Linked DNA regions of Homo sapiens: region 2 is linked to region 1. Evidence: promoter capture Hi-C in 16 types of primary human blood cells and fetal thymus (Javierre and others, 2016). All regions are on one chromosome and are shown on one strand. Each heading gives the region's core, a stretch centred on a gene start or on the middle of the fragment in contact. The rest is flanking DNA. Distances are from core to core; before and after follow the strand shown.

What was found. The method cuts DNA at HindIII sites, captures the fragments that hold promoters and counts their contacts. A CHiCAGO score of 5 or more calls a contact.
Region 2: a contact is called between a fragment that was not itself captured here and the fragment with the promoter of ST8SIA3 in region 1, in 1 of 17 cell types (endothelial precursors). The highest score is 5.2, in endothelial precursors.

What each region holds. Positions count from the first base shown.
Region 1 is chr18:57,349,358-57,355,327 of GRCh38, forward strand. It overlaps ST8SIA3 (ST8 alpha-N-acetyl-neuraminide alpha-2,8-sialyltransferase 3), which reads left to right and starts at 3,200. Exons shown (of 4, transcript NM_015879.3): 1 at 3,200-3,668; 2 at 5,045-5,167. The coding sequence starts at 3,490. The HindIII fragment of the contact is 6,120 bases long and covers 1,843-5,970 here.
Region 2 is chr18:57,038,302-57,044,271 of GRCh38, forward strand. WDR7-OT1 (WDR7 overlapping transcript 1) reads left to right here and starts at 1,678. Exons shown (of 3, transcript XR_001753461.2): 1 at 1,678-3,317; 2 at 5,659-5,896. The HindIII fragment of the contact is 1,172 bases long and covers 2,254-3,425 here.

The DNA.
Region 1 (5,970 bases), core at 1,950-4,449:
CCTTTACATCATGTGACCTTCAGTGGCCTGTATGCAATATGAAAATCGTCCTCCTAGGACTTTCTTTAGAAGGTTCACAGAGGTGTGCTAAGCATAAGTAATACATCAGTTTTTAAATCCAGGCAGAGCGAACCCATATCAGATGTCTCAGGAAAGCCTGCAATGCTGTTTTATAAAGGGAACAGAAGAGTTTCTTGATCTTTGCTATTCTCTGCAAGAAAATATCTCACCTAAGTACATCCTTTCGTATGCACTCTGTAGCAGGACATTTACAGGGTCAGAGAAAAAGACACTAAAAACTTACCCAAGCTGTTAGCTCATATTTATTAACTGCTTAATATAGGCCAGGGTGCAAAGGCCTTTATATGCTTTGTTTAATCTTCCCCCAAACCCTGGGAGATTTTTATCCCAGTTCTGCAGATTAGCAGACTGAAACACAGAGAAGTTGTAACTTACCCAAGGTCACCTGGCTGTGGATGCCAGAGTAAGCATTTATTTTAATTGATACATAATAATCATACATATATAGGTACATAGTGATATTTTGATACATACAATACATAGTGATCCCATCAGGGTAATTAGCATATTTGTCATTTCAAACTTGTATCATTTCTTTGTTTTGGGGCATTCAATATCTTCTCTTCTAGGTATATGAAAATATACAATACATTATTGTAACTATAGTCATCCTATAGTGCTATAGAACACTAGAACTTATTCCTTCTATCCAGCTGTAATTTTGTATCCTTTAATAAATATTTTATCCTCTCTCCCCCGTACACTTCCCAGCCTCTAGTATTCTCTGTTCTACTTTTTACTTCTTTGAGATCAGCTTTTTTAGCTTCTGTGTATGAGTGAGAACATGCGGTGTTTAACTTTCTGTTCCTGGCTTATTTCACTTAACATAATGTCCTCCAGGCTCATTCCTGTTGCTGAGAATGACAGAATTTCATTCTTACTTATGGATGAATGGGATTCCTTTATGTATATATACCACATTTTCTTTATCCATTCATCTGTTGTTGAATACTTGGGTTGATCCATATCTTGGCTATTGTGAACAATGTGGCAATAAACATGGTGGTAGATATCTCTTTGACATACTGATTTCCGTTCCTTTGCATAAACGCCCAGTCATGGGAATACTGGATCTTATAATAGTTCAGTTTGTAGTTTTTTTCAGGTACCTCTGTACTGTTCTCCATAGTGGCTGTACTAGAATGCATTCCCACCAACAGTGTATACGAGTTCCCTTTTCTCTGCATCCTTGCCAGCATTTGTTATTTTTTGTGTTTTTGATAATACCCAGAGTATGCTTTTGAAGTCAGGTCTTTCTGGCTCCACAGTCTGAAGGTGTAACACTACCCCAGGCTGCCTCTCCATAGCATGTTTCCTGATTTCTGGTTCAAGAAGACTTTTTCTAACAGGTGTCATTCCTAGATGGCTCTCTTAAGATCTTACTCCCTTTGGCATTTTACACCTTACTCATACAATCATTTTTAAAAAATAGCAATTTAAAAAAATACAGTTCAAGTGTTCATCATATCCAGGCATGCAAGCCTTTTCTAAATTTTTTTAAATAATAAAAAAGCCCCACAGAGGAAAGGAGGTTATTTGTGTCCTCCTGACACACACTTTTAGATTTTGGTTAAAAAGTCTCTAGTGGGTGCAAAGTGACCCCCTTTGTCACTGGAAACAAATAGGAGCATTCTTTGTGCCACTGTCCACAACCACACAGATATGTTTCCCAAGGGAGCTCATCAGGTCTTCAAACATTTAGCAAGCATGACATGTGTAAGAGACAGTATTGGAGAAGTAAGACAAGCCTTGCTCTGCCGAAGCTTACAATCCAGGAGCTCACCCCTTCAAGGAATTTACAGCCTCCAGACAGATAATAACATTAGGTCCATGAAAGCCTACAAGGCAAGAAGTTCAGGAGAGAAAGAAGTCATAACCATCTTGGAAGAATCTCAACTTGTTTTATCAGAACTCAAACGCCAATTTCTCACCCCTAGCTTCCCTCATTAGTGCTTATTAACTAGTATTGGGAGGACCAAGCGAAGAGTAAAGCTAGGGTAGCAGAGGCCATAAGCTAATTGCAAAGGACAGAGCTAAAGAAACATGCTAGTTTCCCCTGAGCACCCAACTGCATGACTGAAAATGGATTAATTTGTATTTCTAATGGATATACAAGAAACACGTGAATATGCTAAAATAAATTTAAGGTCAAGCAATGCAAAGTGTTAGTGCGTTTGCCTTCCACTCTCAGAGGCAGCCTCTATTATTTGGTTCTTGGGCTGCTTCATAAAAAGTTCTGTGTTTTTTAATGGCCTCAGCTTTTGGGAGGCTCAGGCCACCTAGCCCATCAGGAGACCAGGCCCGAAGGATGGATCTGAAGAGTGGGCAACGGAGAGTTAAACCAGGGCTGACTTCAACAGGCCCAGTCAAGTCAGGGGCAAGCACATTGTCCATCCACTGGAAGACGGAAAGGGGAGAGGAAGGCAGGCCCTCCCGACTCACAGGTCACCTCGCAACTTTGCTAGGCACTACCCACCCTTTAGGGATAAGTGAAGTATGTGGTGGGCATACAAGGCGCACAGGGGAGTCATTCTGGCAAATTCCAAGAAGGTTTTAAGGGCTCCCGAGGCAGGCAGGCCCAGTTGCTGTTTGGAGCTTCCTTTGGGGTGGGAGGATGGCGGGGGCAGGGGGCCGGGGCGGTGCCTTAACGAGGGGAGATGCTTTTAAATAGCTGCCTTCCAAAAACCATCCTCCCTGCTTCTTTGAGAAGCACCCAGCTGTTGTTTACCCTCCAGGACAGCAAATCCGGTTATTTGTCTCTCTATTCCGTGATATTATAAAGTAATGAATGGTCCATTAAACTAAGTTTGGGATCCCGTCTCCCCACAGCCACCTCCTCGCCGGCACCCTCAGCCGGGGAGGCCGTAGGCTCGGGCTGCAGCCTGGCAGCCTCAGTCCCCCTCCCTCCACCATTTCCCTCTACTCCCTCCCTCTCCTGCACCCCCTCCCCCCGGTTATTTGGGAGATTAGAGTTCATTAATTAAATCCTGTGCTTAGATCGAACTGTAACATTATTCCAATCACATTTATCTTGCAGGCGGCGGAGGAGATGGCAGCCTCGCTGGAAACGCGCGGGGGAGCCTGAGCCGGCGGCCGGGGACGCACGGCGCTGCGCGCTCCTTCGCCACGCCGCCGCGCAGCCCCTCCATCTTCCTGCTCGGCACCGGGCCCCGCGCGCCCCTGCCTACGGGGTCCCGCTGCTCTCCGGGGCTCCTGCCAGCCCCAACCCCCGGCCCCGGTGGCCTCCCCCCACCCCCGCCCGGGTCCCCCTCCTCCGCCACACGCGCGCGCGCTCACACACACACACACACACACACACACACACACACACATATATACACGCCAGCGAGCTGCTGGCCGCTCAATGGACCGATTTCCCCGGTTTCCCTGAACCCAGCCCAGCCCGGGATGAGAAACTGCAAAATGGCCCGGGTCGCCAGTGTGCTGGGGCTGGTCATGCTCAGCGTCGCCCTGCTGATTTTATCGCTCATCAGCTACGTGTCCCTGAAAAAGGAGAACATCTTCACCACTCCCAAGTACGCCAGCCCGGGGGCGCCCCGAATGTACATGTTCCACGCGGGATTCCGGTGAGTGCGGGCCTCTGTGTTAGTGCCCTCGGGAATTTGGTTGATGGGGTGTTTGGGGAAGGGAAGGCGTGGGGGAGGGGTGTTTTGGCCTCTCCGAGACTCTTTGGGCCAGATAACTGCGCGGTCCTTCCACTCCTCTCTCTAATTCTCCCTTCCCCCTCCCTGTTATTTTTTTTTTAACCCAAAGCCCCTAGAAGCCGCTGTCCAAATCGATGTGATTGCATTTCTCGTATTCTTCCTCAGCATCCCTTCCCTCATTTCAGAAATGGGGGTTGGGGGAGGCTTTCAGGAGGGTGAGGGTGGAGGGAAAGACGGTGTGTTTGTTCGGGAGGGGGCGGCGAGCAGAGATGGACAGGCGTGAGGGGAGCGCCCTCCCCGCGCCCTGTCCGCAGACTCCGCGGGCCGGGCCCGGGGCGGTGCTGGCGGTTTAATGGCGCAGGCGCCGGACTCCCCTCGCGCCCTCCTCCTTTACTCCCCCACGCCTATCAAAGGACACGCGGGTTTATTCTCAGGAAGCCCCTGGGGCGTTCTCTCTCAACCCTTTCCCCCGCAGCCACCGCCCCCCACCAGCTTTCCGGGATTTCTGCAATTCCCCCGCCCCCTGCGGGAAGCGAGCCTCGGAAGGGCCGCCCACCCTCGCCAGGTCGGAGTCACCGCTCCGCGCTGGGCCGGCCTGTGAAGGCTCCAGGCGCAGCTTGACGCCGCTCTGCGAGAGCCCCCGCCCCGCTCTGTGACCCCGGGAACTCTCCCAGCAGGGCCTCCTGACGGGCAGGTGGCAACTACAAAGTGCCACCTGTGGTCCAAGCTGGGACCGAGGCGAGGAACCCAGAGGAGCCTCGCCTGGACCGAGGAGCGGAGTAGGCCGGCGGCCCCCGGGGGTCCCCAGCCAAGTTATAGGAAGTGAAATCGGACGTGGGTTTGGGAAGGAAGAGGTTAAGGCAGGAACCACCCCCAGACTTTCCCTGGGTCTCCGGTTTCCTCTGCCCTTTCTCCAAAAACAATTCTATGGGGCTGCAAAGGCGTAGCGGGTCAGGCTGGCGGGGCGGCCGCTGTCCGCGGTGCTGATTCCCTGGTCCTCGCAGCGCCGCGGGCTCCAGCCCTGCGCCCGGCGTGCGCCCTGCTCTCCGCATGACGGCCATTTTATGGTCTCTCCGGCACCCGGAGGGATGGACAATGCAGATGGGGTTCCCTAGTTTTCTTTTTTTCTCTCGGGTGTGTGTGGGAGCAGAGGGTGGACCAAATGAGAGGGGCTCCGGGACGGAACGGAGCCCGCACGCGTACCAGCCGCCCTCGCCCCAGCCGCTGCACTTTAATGGCTACCTCGGCTTCCCCGAGCTGAGGCCAGCACGCTTGTCTGTGCTCATGCTCCTCTCCAGGTCACAATTTGCGCTGAAGTTTCTAGACCCGTCATTCGTGCCCATTACGAATTCTCTCACCCAGGAACTCCAAGAGAAACCTTCTAAGTGGAAATTTAATCGGACAGCGTTTTTACATCAAAGGTAGGATAGGAGGAAAAGATCCAAAAGGTGCTTTTAAGAATTCAAGAGCTCAAAACAAAACAAAACAAAAACAAGCAAACAAAAACATCTAAAACAACAAACATCTATACGCCCCACCCTCACCATCAGGTGTATCTGCATTGTTTTCTTGGCATGACTGCACAAAGCAATGATCAGGAACCTTCTCCTGTGTGTGTAGTGTCCTCTCATAAAAAGGACATATCAGGACCAATTTGAATAGCAAAAAAAAAAAAAAGCATTCCACTTGGGCTTGATTGAGCACCATGATTTACAGCTAACAAGTCTGGCAAGTACTGCCAAAGCCATCTATTTAAAAAAAAAAAACAGACAAAAGGTTAGTTGCAAAAAGACCACCCAATGCATTTTCATTTCCTCACTGAAAAAAACTTGAAAAATAGAATAAAGTGGTATTGTTTCTTTGAAACACACGGAAAATGCCATAATCTGTCTCCATCAAATTACTCGTGAAAATGCTGGCCCAAATGTATGTAGATATTTAACTATGGTTTTGTTTTGGTTTTGCCTGTTTTCATTGTCTTTACAGCTTTTAACTTACTGTAAAGGTACCTAACTTAATTCCTACTAATTGTAGCGGTTTCATTTTATACACATAAGATGGTTTTGAGGTTTTGTTTTTTTAGGTGGAAGAAGGATGAGATTTGTTCAAATGTATTTATTCTGCTCAGTGATTCTGGTCTACTCTTAGCAAACCACGATAACTCATTACTCCTTCCTTCATGGTGGGATTATTTTACTGCTAAATGGGATGTGAGCCATCTAGC
Region 2 (5,970 bases), core at 1,590-4,089, 310 kb before region 1:
TCCTCTCCATCAATGGACGCTATCATCAAGGCCAGCTTTATAGTAGCGAAAGAGACATGCTTTATTCTCATATTGACCTCAATAAAAAACCAAGGACCTCAAAATTCAATCTTCATTTATTTATTCCACAGTGACTTATTGAATGCCTATTATTTTCCAGGCATTTCTAGCAACGGTGAAATTAATACAGTGCAGGCACTCACATCCTTTATGCATCTCAAAGGCTATCTAGCTAATGCGCTGGATGTTGTGAGGCCCATTATCCATAGTGTACACACGCCCGCAGCCCCTCCTTCTGATGGTTTAACTTGGAGCAATCCTCAATGGTTGTGCATAGCCAGATACACGCACTATGCACACAGGCACTGGGTTCTGGGTCACCTCCCTGGCATCCCAGGCCTCTGTCTGCTTCCTTCAGTGCTTCCTTCTTCAGCCGTCCCTCCCTGGATCCCAGCCACCTGAGCTCCATCCATCCCTGATTTCATTCCTTTTTTTTCCTCTTCCAGCTCTAGTCCACAGCCTTCCTCCCCAGGACATGTGATTCAAGCCTGAAGCATACAATGGGAGCACAAAGGAGGAGGGGACAGAGAAAAGAAATGAGCATCAGCCTTGGGAATGTCTCCTCTGACTGTAGAGTCAGGAGACATTAAGATAAACATTCACTGGAACATATACATTCTGGTAGATTCCGATGAGAATTAAGCCCATTCATTCATCTGGTAAATATCTAGTGAACATCTACCATGCATCAGGCAGAGAACTAGGTGCTGGGATTGTAGTGGGGAAGGCAACAGTTGTGACACCTGCCCTTATGGGCTCACAGTCTAGTGGGCTGGGGTGGGGACTAAGCCAGCCACAAATTGTAACATGAGCAGTGACGGAAACAAGGGCAGCTGAGACCCAATAGCCCAGGGAAGGAGTGGGCAAGGTCAACCCGGGGTCTCTGAAGGAAGATAAGGAGCTGGATGTTGGTGGAGCAGTTGGAAGCGGGAAGAGCTTCTAGAGAAGAAAATAGCACGTGTGAGGTCCCTGAGGCAGAAGGGAGAGTGACAGCAGGTAATGAGCCAGGTGTGGCCACAAGTGAGGCATCTGGACAGTATTGAATCCTGTAGACAATGGTCAAGGGCACTCTTAGGGGACTCAAAAACCATCCAAAAATTGTGAGTTGAAAGGTGTGATTTAATTTAGCTAGAAAACACCACTCAGCTGCAATGTGGAGAATGGGTTGGAGTGGGTTGGGGGAAACGGGGTTTGTTAATTATCTATACAGTAACAATATTAGCACAAACTTCTTAAAACACATTTGCCCGGGTGCAGTGGCTCATGCTTGTAATCCCAGCACCTTGAGAGGCTGAGGCAGGCAGATCACTTGAGGTCAGGAGTTCAAGACTAGCCTGGCCAATATGGTGAGACCCCATCTCTACTAAAAATACAAAAATTAGCTGAGTGTGGTGGTACACACCCATAATCCTACCTACTTGGGAGGCTGAGGCAGGAGAATCACTTGAACCTGGGAGGCGGAGGTTGCAGTGAACGAAGATGGCACCACTGCACTCCAGCCTAGGCGACAGAGTGAGACTCTGTCTCAAAACACACACACACACACGTACACACACACACGCACACACACACTTGCATGCACACATGCGCATGCACACACGCGCATGCACACACACACATATTTATGGCATTACAGCTTCTCGGAACCAGGCATCCAGCCTAGGCTTAGCCAGGAGCCTTGGCCTCAAGATCTCTCACAGGCTGCAATCAAGGTGCTGGCTGGGTCTATGGTCCCATCTGAGGCTTGTGAGGGAGAGAATTTGCTTCAAAGTTCATGTCATTGTTGGCAGAATTCAATTTCTTCTGCTTGTAGGACTGGGGGCCTCACTTTCTCGCTGGCTGTCACTGGAGGCCCTTGCAGGCTGTTGGCTGGAGCCTAGAGGCTTCCTGCAGCTCTCTGCCACTTGGAGTTTCCCAACACAGTCACACTGCAGCGGTGGTGGCATTATGGCTGAATCTTGAAAGATGAATAGGAGTTTCCCAGGGTGGAAGAACATTCAGACAAAGGGGAGACGTGACTGAAGGCATGGAACTGTGAAGGCAGGTGATGTTTTCAGGGAGCAGCAGATGTAGCCAGTCCCTTACCCAGAGCCATGTTCCCCTTTATTCCATGCTTCTAAGCCTGGGCTTGGCTCTGTTCTTTGCACCAATGACCATGTGCTCAGGCTGGAGTTTATCAGCCTTGGAAATGGAAGCTTGATTAATTCAAGCCAGCAAGCTCATGCAGTGCCTAGTGGTATAAGTAAGGCCTTCAGTGCCATTCTGGCCCATGAGGTGGGAGGGGGGTGCTCTTGGGAAAGGTTTTCCTCCCCAGTGAAAAGAGACATTCACGTAGAAGTTTCTATCTGTGGACATAGCTGTGTGAATCTGTGATACCTGGGAACCCACAAGCCATTTTGGGCCTATGTTGGAACCCACCTTGGCTCAAGCCAACTTACTGGGGTAAATCCTCAGTGACATCACTGGGCTTCTAGAGGAGCCAGCCCTGCAGACACCCACCTCTTTCTCCTGTCATATGATATAATCATCTTCCCCACTGGCTGAGCCCCTTGCAGCCAACCCTTGAAAACAGACTGTACAGTGTACAGTGACATGGCATGAAGTGATTCAAACTCATGAGCTGAAGCCAGCATGAAGATCTTTGTAGCCAGTGACACGGAGCTAGGCTGTTTCCTGAGAGGTCTGGAGAGTTCTCAATGATTTTCAGGGCAACAATGATCCCATATCTTGGCTAAACCTGGTGGCAGGATGCATCATAGTTTAGAAAATGGAGATCGTTGTGACAGGGAGGCCAGGGATGGCTGCACATCTAGAGATTCTGAGAACTCAAACTATTGCAGGTGTGATGGACACCAAAAGGAAGGGCCAAGGGACATGTAAGAGGCAGGAGTTAGAGGAGTTGGTGAGTGAAATGTCAGGAAGGAGGCAGAAGCCCAGGGTTCCCCAGTGCGAGAGATGGGGGACCAATGGCATTTGCCAGTCCAGAATACTCACATTCTTGGAAAACATCATCCATGTTCACACCTTGATTCCTTCACTGCTACTGTTCCCTTCGCAGGTAGGATCCTTCCACAGAAAATTCCCATTCACATAATCCCACATTATAGCATTGCTGCCGTGGGGAAGTCAGATTCCATTTACACTATTCAGACTTGCAGTCCCTCAGTCAGGAACACCAGCTCCAGGAGTGAGACGCACCTCTACGAACTGTATTTACGTTAACCCTCAGAACACCATCCCACATGACAAGCCACAGGGTGAGTAGAAGGCTGAATTACTTCAAATGTATTGGTTAATAACTTAGTCAAAAAATACAAAGCTGCAGTGTCTGTCACATTGGATCTATTTCTTGAAGACAAAGGCTAAGCTTCATTGCCGGCTCAGAAATGCACTGGAAACAATTCTTGTTGTTTCACTTCCTGGGGCTTATATTTCTTGCTGTTTGTAAAATATGGTATTAGATAACAAAGAAGAGTCTGGGTAGAAAAGGGTAGAGTCTACATTCCTCATGTTGAAAACCTGCTTAGGGTGATTTTCCCCTTACTGAACTCCTAAAATTACCAAAAAAAAATGTATTCAATTATTATATTTTGAATTTCATCAAGAAAAAATGTGTGGAAATTTGTTTTCTCTCTGTGCAATATTCTCAATTTTGCCTCTTAGCCCACAAAGCCTAAAATATTTACTATCTGGCCCTTCAGCAGACAAGGTGGCTGTCTTAGTCCATTTTGGCTGCTATAGCAAACTGCCATAAGCTGGGTGGCTTATAAACAACAGAACTTTATTCCTTACAGTTGTGGAAGCTGGGGAGTCCAAGATCAAGGCATGGGCAGGTTCAGTGTCTGGTGAGGGCCCAGTTCCTGGTCACAGAATGCATCTTCCTGCTGTGGCCTCACATGGTGGAAGGGGTGAGGGAGCTCTCTGGGGCCTCTTTTATGAGGGCACTAATCTCATTTACTAGGGCTCTGCCCTCATGGCCTAATCAACTCCCAATGTTCCCATCTCCCAATACTGTTGCTTTGGTGATTAGGTTTTAATGTATGTATTTTGAGGGGACACAAACTTTCAGTCCACACTGGTGACTGACTCCTGAGCTACAGCCATACCATTCAAAGTGTGGTCTGGCACTTCTCAAAAAAAGACATTTCTGTGGCCAACAAACACATGAAAAAAAGTTCATGATCACTTAGAGAAATGAAAATCAAAACCACAATGAGATACCATCTCATGCCAGTTAGAATGGCGATCATTAAAAAGTCACGAAACAACAGATGCTGGAGAGGATGTGGAGAAATAGGAACACTTTTACACTGTTGGTGGGACTGTAAACTAGTTCAACCATTGTGGAAGGCAGTGTGGTGATTCCTCAAAGATCTAGAACCAGAAATACCATTTGACCCAGCAATCCCATTACTGGGTATATACCCAAAGGATTATAAATCATTCTACCATAAAGACACATGCACATGTATGTTTATTGCAGCATGGTTCACAATAGCAAAGACTTGGAACCAACCCAAATGTCCAGCAATGATAGACTGGATAAAGAAAATGTGGCACATATACACCATGGAATACTATGCAGACATAAAAAAGGATGAGTTCATGTCCTTTGCAGGAACAGGGATGAAGTTGGAAACCATCATTCTCAGCAAACTAACACAGGAACAGAAAAACAAACACCACATGTTCTCACTCATAAGTGGGAGTTGAACAATGAGAACACATGGACACAGGGAGGGGAACATCACACCCCAGGGCCTGTCGGGGGTGGAGGGCAAGGGGAGGGATAGCATTAGGAGAAATACTTAATGTAGATGACGGGCTGATGGGTGCAGCAAACCACCATGGCACAGGTATTCCTATACCTATGTAACAAACCTGCACGTTCTGTACATGTATCCCAGAACTTAAGGTATAATTAAAACAAAAACAAAAACAAAAACTAAAAAGCAAAGTGTGGTCTGGGCACCAGCCGCATCCATATCCCCTGGGAGCTATTTAGAAATGTAAAACCTTAGGTCACACCCAGACCTCCTGGGTCACAACTGCATTTTGGCAAGCTTCCTGGATGATTCGTGTGCACCTACAGTTTAAGAAACACTTCACAGGAGTCCATGTGGAACCTCACAGGTGCTGTTGATAGTTTCATTAGGCACCAGGCTGGGACTGGCTCTGGGCACCACCATTCACTGTGTCCCAAGGTGGAAGCCCAGGCCTCTTGCACAGGGGTGCACTAAGGTATGCTGCTCCCCATCAAAAGATTGGCCCAAGCCCAGATCCTAAAGCCAATCTCTCTGGGGCATCTGTTTTCCCATCTGTATGACGGAGGGGTTGGAAAGGCTGATGTCAGAAGACCAGTATGGCTTTATCATGTGTTTGGTTTTTGTTTGAGGGGGATTGATAGGATGATTTCTGTCCATGTTCATGTTCATGTTCCAGAAACATGGTAGGTTGAGATGAAAAGGGCATGACAAGAACCACAGCAGCTTCCAGATGAGGCTAGTGTATGGAGATGTGAGATTCGGGATGTTTCATTTTACATAGATCATATTCTGTAAGGTTATTCTTCTAGTTCTATGTTTCTTTGCATCATAGGAAAAAGGAATCGGATCCAGGGAAAACGCTGTACCACTGGGGCCCGGGTGCCTTAAGTGGTTTTCTGATCAACTCCATAGAATCAGAATGTCAGGACTACAAGTCATCCGTGTCCCTGCAAAGGACATCTCATCTTCATTGATCATCCATGGTGCTGAGCATTTAAGAGGCACCAGGGATGTAACTTTGAATCAGAAGAGACCTGGTTCCTGCCCTTGTGGAGCTTACATTCCCGTGGGTGAGACAGATAAAGAGCAGTAGTTATAAGCAAAAGGGGGAAAGGAAGATGCGGGGGTAGGGAGTGGTTTGCAA